Regions from separate parts of the Homo sapiens genome. Here region 1 is linked to region 2. The links are contacts of gene promoters, found by promoter capture Hi-C in blood cells and fetal thymus (Javierre and others, 2016). All regions are on one chromosome and are shown on one strand. The core of a region is centred on a gene start or on the middle of the fragment in contact, and the rest is flanking DNA. Distances in the headings are between cores, read along the strand shown. Region 1 has its middle 20 kb from the start of OR6J1. Region 2 holds the start of MMP14 (matrix metallopeptidase 14).

What was found. The method cuts DNA at HindIII sites, captures the fragments that hold promoters and counts their contacts. A CHiCAGO score of 5 or more calls a contact.
Region 1: a contact is called between a fragment that was not itself captured here and the fragment with the promoter of MMP14 in region 2, in 5 of 17 cell types (naive B cells, neutrophils, erythroblasts and 2 more). The highest score is 7.3, in naive B cells.

Annotation. Positions count from the first base shown.
Region 1 is chr14:22,621,816-22,626,424 of GRCh38, forward strand. No RefSeq gene overlaps it. Among named protein-coding and RNA genes, the nearest start is that of OR6J1, 20 kb to the right of the region's middle. The HindIII fragment of the contact is 2,566 bases long and covers 419-2,984 here.
Region 2 is chr14:22,834,328-22,839,575 of GRCh38, forward strand. MMP14 (matrix metallopeptidase 14) reads left to right here and starts at 2,258. Exons shown (of 10, transcript NM_004995.4): 1 at 2,258-2,598. The coding sequence starts at 2,491. It overlaps MRPL52 (mitochondrial ribosomal protein L52), which reads left to right. Exons shown (of 5, transcript NM_180982.3): 5 at 1-710. RefSeq lists a silencer at 1,916-2,132. The HindIII fragment of the contact is 13,873 bases long and covers 1,046-5,248 here.

The DNA.
Region 1 (4,609 bases), core at 452-2,951, 210 kb before region 2:
CATCATCCTGCTAAATATCACTCTTCACTAGGGTTAAGGAGGAAAGACCTTCCTCATTCCTGGAGAGAATACTAAGGAGGATTAACAGATGTCAGCAGGTGCACAGAGTCTGTTCCCCAACCCACAAGGACCCCATTATCTTGGTTGGTGACTCTGCTAAAGGCCTAGGAGATCTGTAGACTTCACCTTACTGATGGCTGATGCTCCTTCTTCCTGGAATATTCTGAGGCCTAATGGAGAGTTTGTGATAATTCAGCAACCACATATTTTAGTTGGTATATATGTGTCTTAGTCTGTTTCTTCTGCTATAAAGGAATACCTGAGGCCAGGTAATTTATAAAGAAAAGAAAACCTGTCAGTTCTGCAGGCTGTACAAGAAGCATGGCATCAGCATCTGCTTCTGGTGAGGGCCTCAGGAAGCTTCCACTCATGCTGGAAGGGTAAGGGGAGCTGGAGTGTGCAGAGATCACATGACAAGGCAGCGCAGGCCAGAGAGAAACAAGTGAGGTGCCAGGCTTGTTTTAACAATCTCTCCCAGGCACTGCTAGAACAAGAACTCACTCATAACCACACAGACAGCACCAAGCCATTCATGAGGAATCTGCCCCATGACCCAGACACCTCCCATTAGGCCCCATCTCAACATTGGGGATCAAATTTCAACATGAGATTTGAAGAGTCAGATATCCAAACTATAACAATATGAGAACAAATCACACACAACCAGAAGAATCCTGAGACATGCTAGTGGCTGAAAAGGATCCTGAAGGATATGGCGTTAGAGGTGATATTTTCATCTTCTCAGTTTGACCAGCTGACACCATGTGTTGTGTCTGGGAAAAGAATTTTTGAGAGGGCTCACAACTTATGATAGATTTATGGGCCTCTGATAAATTATGAGGTAACTAACACAAAAACTGGGCATCATGTACTTTCTAAAATGTTCAAGGAAAGTGTCCAAATGTAACTGCAAAACCATATATTATAGCAGTGGCTTCCTACATAGATCCACAGACTGGAGCTGGTCCATGATAAAGTATTTCTGGTTCATAACAAAATAGTGCCTTTTTTTTTTTAGTATTTTTAAATTCTGAAATTATATCCTTTCTAACCCTTTCAGGATTAAACTATTGTTATTTTATAAAAAGATGCTGATATTCTACGATTGTTTGGGGGTGAGAGGGAATGTCATTTTTTGTTTCCAAACATATCAATTTTAGAATTTTTTCCTGTATTTGTAATTAATATTATTAAAATCCTAAAGTCTGGGGAGTGCTGGCTATATTACAGAAGACCAGAGTGGGAGAGGAACTTGAATTTTATGACAAGAAGATAGATAAGTCAATCATGTGGATCCCATGACTGGAGGGGACCGTGGAAAGATAACGCTGTTCAGAGGAAGTGAATCTAATTGAAGGGACTCAACAATAGCATGTATGCCAAAAAGGAAACCACAGAACTGAAGGTGGAAATGTTTGGATGGGGATAAAAGGAGAAACAAACAGAAATAGATACTAAGATAATTGGAGGACACAGATGCTGCTTTCTTAGTTCAGACTGCCAAACATCAAAAGCAAGTTACAGTAGTGCCAGAGGTCTCCAAGAATCAGGACACTAACATGAGTCTCTTTCTGCCAGAAGCAGAGCACCTAGTAAATTCTTGCTCTACTCACAATTGCGTTTACTAGAATATTGAAAAAAGATTGTCAGATGTAATTTTTATAGATTTCAGGAAGTCAGATTTCAGAATGTTCCAAGGAAAATTATCTATAGTGCTTAAAAGGGACAGGGCATTCTCAAACATGAAGTTTCAATTGTATCTCAAAGGGTCCTGCTGAGGAAGAATGAAGCGGCTTCAGCAATCAGAAAGCGGCTGCACAGGTTGTTTTCTGATATGATCAAAGTGTGGGCAGAGATGAATGTCAAGTCTTTCACATGAGAAAAATGAACCTCGGCCGAGTGTGGTGGCTCACGCCTGTAATCCCAGCACTTTAGGGGACTGAGGCAGGAGGATCGCTTGAGCCCAGGAGTTCAAGACCAGCCTGGGCAATATGGCAAGACTCCATAGCTAAAAGTAAAAATAAAAATAAAAAATTTAATTAGCTGGGCATGGTGGCATGTGACTGTAGTCCTAGCTACTCGGGAGGCTGAGGCAGAAGGATTGCTTGAGCCCAGAAGTTCAAGGCTGCAGTGAGCTATGAAGCTATGGAGTGCCACTGCACCACAGCCTGGGCAACACAGTCAGACCATGTCTCCAAAAAAAAAAAAAAAAAAGATAGAAAAAAATGAACCAAACTAGTAAAGCAATGGCAGTTGATGTGAAAAGATTAAACCGATGTGAAGGTTTTAGTGGGCTAGAAGCTCTGTTTATGGCAGTAAAGGAATGAAGCTGCCCCAAAAGCTAATGGAAAGCTAGGTCTCATTCCCTGCATTGATTGGGGGACTCAATGGTTTCACTGTAACCTGATTTGAGTGTTGGGTTCAATTCTGAGAACATTTTTCCTTTTTTTAAATGTAAACAAAAATTTTTAATTGTACAAAAATAAGACAAAATTAAAAACACTTTTTAAAAAATCTATAATTATACTACCCACAAATAACCATGTTAAATACATTGGAATATATTCTTTCAGATGATATATATGTTATTATATACATAAATGTATATTTACTAGAATGAGAGCATACTAACAAAGTGCTTTATAAAAATTTTTAACCTTATTGTTATAAATCTCTTTCTATACCAATAAATATAGAATCCATAGAAATATATCATCATTTTTAACTGTTGCATCTTCTTCCACTGTCTGGATTTACTATAGTTCATTTACCTGCTTCTCTGTTCTTGGACTTTAAATTGCTTCCAAATATTTGTATGTTATAAACAATGTGCGCTAAGTCCCTTGTACGTACATATTTGCATATTTGACCAATTATTTCCTTCCTTGAGGTAAGATTGCAGGATTGAAGGGTTTGCAAAATGAAGCTTTTTTTTTTTATTTTGAGACAGAGCCTCACTCTGTCACCCAGGCTGGAGTGCAGTGGCGCGCTCTCGGCTCAGTGCAATCTCCACCTCCTAGGTTCACGCAATTATCTTGCCTCAGCCTCTTGAGTAGCTGGGATTACAGGCACACATGACCCTGCATGGCTAATCTTTTTGTATTTTTAGTAGAGACAGGGTTTTGCCATGTTGGCGCTGGTCTCGAACTCCTGACCTCAGGCAATCCACCCTCCTCGGCCTCCCAAAGTGCTGGGATTACAGGCATGAGCCACCACGCCCGGCAAAATAAAGCTTTTTGATAAGCAATGAGAATAGTTTATAACAAGTGATCAGAAAAAGAAAAGCAACCCAGAGAAAAATAAATGTTTTATTTTTGTGTACATGGCAAGAAATATGAATAAGTAATTTACAGAAGAAGATATGCAAATGACCAATGAATGATCGCTTCTCGGCCTTTTGGCTCTGATAAAGTGTACAAATGACCAATGAAGCCGGAACCAGTGGCTCATGCCTGTAATCCCAGCACTTTGGGAGGCCAAGGTGGGTGGATCACCTGAGGTCAGGAGTTCGAGACCAGCCTGGCCAACATGGTGAAACCTCGTCTCTACTAAAAATACAAAAATTAGCCGGGTGTGGTAGCAGGTTCCTGTAATCCCAGCTACTTGGGAAACTGAGGTAGAAGAATCGCTTGAACCCGGGATGCAGAGGTTGCAGTGAGCCGAGATCATGCCATTGCATTCCAGCCTGGATGACAACAGCAAAACTCCATCTCAAAAAAAAAAAAAAAAAAAAGAGGCCAGATGTGTTGGCTCATGCCTGTAATCCCAGCACTTTGAGAGGCCAAGGGGTGGATCACCTGAGGTCAGGAGTTCATGACCAGCCTGGCCAACATGGAGAAACCCTGTCTCTACTAAAAATACAAAAATTAGCCGAGCATGGTGGTTCATACCTGTAATCCCAGCTACTCGGGTGGCTAAGGCAGAATAATTGCTAGAACCAGGGAGGCAGAGGTTGCAGTGAGCCGAGATCCTGCCATTGTACTCCAGCCTGGGTGACAAGAGCAAAACTCTGTCTCAAAAAAAAAAAAAAAACACCAATGAACATATGAGAAGATACTCAACCTCACTAGCAATAGAAGAAATACATAACAATAAGATACTATTTTTTACATGCAGGTTGACAAAAATTTTAAAGATTGACAATAGCTAGTAATGGCAAAAAGTGAAGAAGTTGGATTTTTTATACAATGTTGGTGGGAGAGGAAATTGTTTCCACATTTTTGGAGGCAACTTGGCAGAATTTATCAAAATAATTACTGAAATTTAAAATGGTCCTACACTATTAGCCATAAGTCCTAATAGCAGGAATTTATGCCAAAAAAATTTAGCACCAGTAACAAAATAGAAGAAATGTGTGTTCATTGGTTATAAATGTGACATCTAAAAATGAATTATGGAATTTTATGGGTACTGTAAGCCAAAAATAAAATTCTAAGCACCCCGAACCAACTAAATGGGCCCCTCCTCTCGACCAAGGGCATTCTAAAGTAAACTTGAAACACTAGTTCAGGCCATGATGAGAATGGGTGGTCAGACATGCCTCCTTAAA
Region 2 (5,248 bases), core at 1,008-3,507:
ACTCCTGCCTCCCTTCCTCACCCTGTCTCTGGATTTCTTTTCTATCACCTAGATGCTTCATCCAGCCAGAAGATAGCCTTCACGTTCCCCATCTGTCTTCAGAGAAAAAGAGCTGGGACACCAAGAACAAGCTGTTAGATCACTGCCTGGGAGGCTTGGCTTAGTACTCTCATCTCTGGTTCCATTCCAGTTCAGCTAAGTCTTGCTTTAAAATTTTTACCTCCTAGCTGGGTGCGGTGGCTCACGCCTGTAATCCCAGCACTTTGGGAGGCTGAGGCGGGCAGATCACAAGATCAGGAGTTCGAGACCAGCCTGGCCAACCCAGCCTGGTCAACATGGTGAAACCCTGTCCCTACTAAAGATACAAACAATTAGCCGGGCGTGGTGGGGTGCGCTTGTAATCCCAGCTACTCAGGAGGCTGAGGCAGGAGAATCGCTTAAACTCGGGAGGTAGAGGTTGCAGTGAGCCAAGGTCACACCATTGCACTCCAACCTGGGCGACAGGGCGAGACTCCGTCTCAAAAAAAAAAAAAAATTTACCTCCTTTGCAGGCCATAGGACTAGCCCAACTATGAGAAATAGCTGTTCTGTGAACGTGAAAAGGGGACAGCAGTTTTCCCAGTTTTGGCCAGGCAGTCAAGCCTTTAACAGCTCATGCACAGTTTAGGCCATGTACAGCTGGCATCTAATAAATGTTTTCATGAAAAAGATTTTCTAGCCAAGGTCCCTTTTTTGGCAAGCATCTGGTGTCAGTCTTCCTAAGATTCAGATATGTGGTCCAGGAGGTTACCCCCACTGGGAAGGCTGATGTGGGAAGAATCATACCTGGGTGTTGCGTGTTCTGCCGAGAGTGGGGTCCTGAGGTCTCCATGGTTCTGAATGCATTCCAGAGATTGGTTGAAGAGGGGCCTGTACCTCCCAACCCCAGCTTGTGTAGGAAAGCCCTACATAAGGGCTCAGCCCTCAGTCACTGTGGGGTAGGTAGCTGTTTAATAACACACACCATATACCTCCCACAAACCTGGAGGCTCCACAGGACCTGAAAAGCTTTTCATTTTATTGATCATGAATCTGAGGGCAAAAGACCTTTGTTTTCATTACAATACTGAGCACTAGACTTCTATTCTTCTGCCACAGAAGTGCATCCCTAGGATTTCTGGAGCTTCCTACCTGACCTAATTTCTGTCCACCCTCCTCTATTCCTTCCTTTGCTTTCTTCTCCCTTCCTCCTCGCACTACCTCTGTCCTCTCTCACTGGCCAAATGCAATTCTTGGATCTTAGATTTCGCTGATAGTCTAGTTTTCTGTCTCCCACACTTTTCCTGCTTCTGTTGTGCTTCTTTTCCAGACCTGTCTAGTTCCCAACTCATCTGTCTCCCTTTCTCACGGTCAGCTTTATCCTGCCCTCTCCCTTCCCTACATACCTCCACCTTTTGTTCTGAGTCCAGTAAGTCCCTAAAGGAGATTATAACTCTTTAAGAATTGCCTCCTTTTTCAGTGTAGAGGTGGAACTAAACCCCAGAGTCCCAACTCCCAATCCCTTCTTTTACAATAATTTCACCCAACTTGATTTGCTTTCCCCCAGATCCCACGGCCTTGTACCCTTTTCCTCCCAGCGAGTTCCAATTAAAGGTGCAGCCACATTACAAATGACAATAAAGGAATCACCTTTGTCTTTCTACAAAGGTTGGAGCCACAGATCCGGTATGGTTGTGGGGTTTGTTGTTGGTAGTTGGGTTATAGTTTGGATTTTTTAGCAGCAGAGGGAGGGACATAGACAGTTGTCTACAGGGCCCAGAAGATAACCCCCTATTAGTAAACTGGCCCCTTCTCCCTCTGCAGGTCTCATGGGCATGGAAGAAGACCCCACCACCATCCCACACTCTGAGCTCCTCGTTGCCCCTAGCCACATAGCCCCCAATAATTCCCACCCTGAGGTGAGACAAATGCTGAATACCAGAGGAATCAAGCCACTCAGAATATGCTTATAGGGACAAAGTCTCCCACATCCCGTCCCCTGGATCCCCCTACAGCCCCCTGCTGTCCATCGCGGCCTCAACCCCTGCAGATGGCAGCCTGCACCACAAAAAGGCAACTTAGAGGTGTTTTTTTTTTTTTTCCTTCCAGTTCTTGGTTGTAATTGGATTCAGGCTAAAACAACCACGTCCCCAACCAGGAAAGGAGGGCACTGGGGCGGGGACGGAGGAGAGGCTGTGGGAGAAGGGAGGGACCAGAGGAGAGAGCGAGAGAGGGAACCAGACCCCAGTTCGCCGACTAAGCAGAAGAAAGATCAAAAACCGGAAAAGAGGAGAAGAGCAAACAGGCACTTTGAGGAACAATCCCCTTTAACTCCAAGCCGACAGCGGTCTAGGAATTCAAGTTCAGTGCCTACCGAAGACAAAGGCGCCCCGAGGGAGTGGCGGTGCGACCCCAGGGCGTGGGCCCGGCCGCGGAGCCCACACTGCCCGGCTGACCCGGTGGTCTCGGACCATGTCTCCCGCCCCAAGACCCCCCCGTTGTCTCCTGCTCCCCCTGCTCACGCTCGGCACCGCGCTCGCCTCCCTCGGCTCGGCCCAAAGCAGCAGCTTCAGCCCCGAAGTAAGTGAGCTTCCCGGCCCTTCCCGGAGTCGCGCCCGCCGGGAGGCGAGCCCGGGGGTCTCCTAGGGGACAGCCTCTATTCGGAGAGGAGGGCTTTTGGGATCTCCGCTGCTCAGGCCTGCAGGATTCCCCCTCCCTTTCTTTTTCCTCTTCGTCTCCAAACTTCCAGATCGATCCAACTTTTGCCCGCTTCCAACCAGCTGCCCCCACCCCCTGCGCCGCCGACTCTCCTTCCCATTCCTTCTTTTTTCCCAGTCCTTGGAAGAACTTTACAACTGGGGCGAACTCCCCCTTCCCCGATTCCCTTGGGCTCTGCTCTCAGCTCTGGAACCGCCTGATAAACATTTGGACTCCGCTCAAACCCCGCGCTGTCCCGGCTCCTCGTCATGCGCGAGAGTTTGTTGTTTCTTCGACTTCCCAGCTCTCCAGCGCTCTCCCGCCGGCGCGCCCTCCGATGGGCGCTTCGGCCTCCCCGGGTGGCCCAGGCCTTCAGCGGACGAGTCTGCGGCCAGGTGGGGGTCGAGGGTGGACGGCCGAGCGTCCAGGGCCACAGCCCCCGTCTCCCCGAGAGGACCCCGCTGTGTCCCTACCCGCATCCCTGGCGTCGAGGGTCGCAGCGCCGGCGCGCTGGCCGCGTTTCCGTACACACAAAGCTCTCCTTGTGAGCCGGGCGATCGGCCGGGTCGCTGCCTCCCCCTATCCCCACCCGCGTCGGCGCCTTCAGGCCCTTTTTGTTGTTAATAGTTTTTCTGTGTTAATTGCAGGGAGCCTGGGGGCGTCGCTTGGGGAATGGGGAGAGGGTCTGGTCCGGGGTGCCCTCACGTCGGGGCTGGCTCGGGCGCCCCCCACCCTCACCCCGGCCCAGACGGTGGCCCACCGGGCCCCAGAGGAAGCTGCGTGGGAGTTGTCTGAGGAGGTTTTTCCTCTCTCTCTCTTATTTTGGGGTGAAGGTGGGAGACGGATTTAATGAGCTTCTTATTTTGGGCCATCTCAACCCACTCAGCCTGGCAAGGGCCTGGGTGCGGTTGGGAGGGGCCAGGAAGGGCCCTAGAAGGGGGATGGGATATGGGTTTGGCTTCTCCTCCTTGGTCCCACCCCGGAGAAAACTCTTTGGAAAGAATACTGTCTTCTCTCTGCGTCCCTGAAAGGGTCTGGGGCCGACTGGAAAAGTATGGCCCCAGGAATCGGGGTGGAAGACGAAACGTGGAGTGCTCAGAGACCAGGGAGAGTAAAAACCTGCCCTGGTGCTGGAGGCTGAGCCTGACTGTCCGGGAGGAGTCGTCCTCTTCCCAGGCCTAGAGTCCTCTGAGACCTGAAAGGGAGCGCCCCTAACAAAACGAGCCTGAGCATCTGGGGAGCTGCCGACCGCCAACTTCACTGCCTTACCTTTTTTCCCTCCCCTGCTTTGCTGGGTCCCCCAGGGGAGGGGCGGCTGCCCTGGCTCCGTTTTAATTGGGTCATGGGCGGTCCCAGTGCCAGAACCACCATTTGCTTCTGGGCCCAGGAAGGGAGGGAGGAGCAGCCCCAGAGGCTAGGATCCAGGGCCTACTGCAGAGCTGGAGGTCCCCCCACCCTCCCCTGGACCCCTAAGCCAAGGTGGGAGGTGTTCCGTTGACTTTCTCCTAGGGGATACCTTGCATCTCTCTCATTCGCAAAGACAAAGCCAGCCGACTGGGTTCTTTGACCCAACATAGTTGCTTTTTTCTCCAGGCCAATGTGGAGGGAAAGCTGGGGTGGTGCAGGCCTCATGCAGCTGGGTCCCTCCTACCAGGCCTCCAGAGTCCTGCACCAGCTCCAGGACAGCCCTCTCCTCCCCATGGCCTGTCTGGCGCTGGGCCCTTCCTCCCACCCAGCCGCAGACACAAGAGTCCTCTCTTCTGTGGTTTCGACCTCATAGTCTCTGTGAGGAGAGAAACTTGCCTAGGCCTGGGGGGAGGAGAGGGATGGGGGCACTTCCTTTCCAGGCCTTGCGGCTCTCTTGACTCCAGGGAAGTCCTTCATTTGACTGAGCCTTCATTTTTCTCCCGAGGGTATGGGGTGGAGGTTGTAGGTGTGAATATTTAGACCCCCCTAGCTTCTTGAACGACTCCAGAGGGGATTTCCCCCAGAGCTCCTGGATGTGGATTCTCCCCATCTCTTCTGTCCCGTCTTCCTTCTGTCGTTCTGTCTTCTCCCCATCTTCCTTCTGTCGTTCTGCTCTAGGCAAATTCTCTCAGCTTTGCTCTCTGAGGGTTGACGGGGCCTGGCCTCAGTCCTCCTGCCTTCCAGCGTCAGTAGACCAGTCCCATCCTTCCCCAAGTCCTGAAGCAGCTGCTCCTCAACCAAGGGTCATAAGCCCGGGGTGTGTTTATCCTGCAGGTATGCTAGGGGCAAAAGACATTTCCTGCATAGTTAGGCACAGGCCACAGCAGGCCTCCCCAGGCACTGGCTGTGGCATCAGCCAGAACAGGTCAGGGCAAGCCTGCAGCTCCCTGAGAGCAGCCCCGGACTGGTGTGGACTGCTTGGCTCCCTCTGGTATACCAAAGGTTAAATGTCACTCCTTCCTCTACCCCTGAGGAGGGGCTCTCAGAGCCTCAGAGCTAGGTGGTGCTAGGGTTGTTCTAGCCAAGACTGTTGGCTGGGAAAAGGCTGGGTTGTTTACATCTCGGG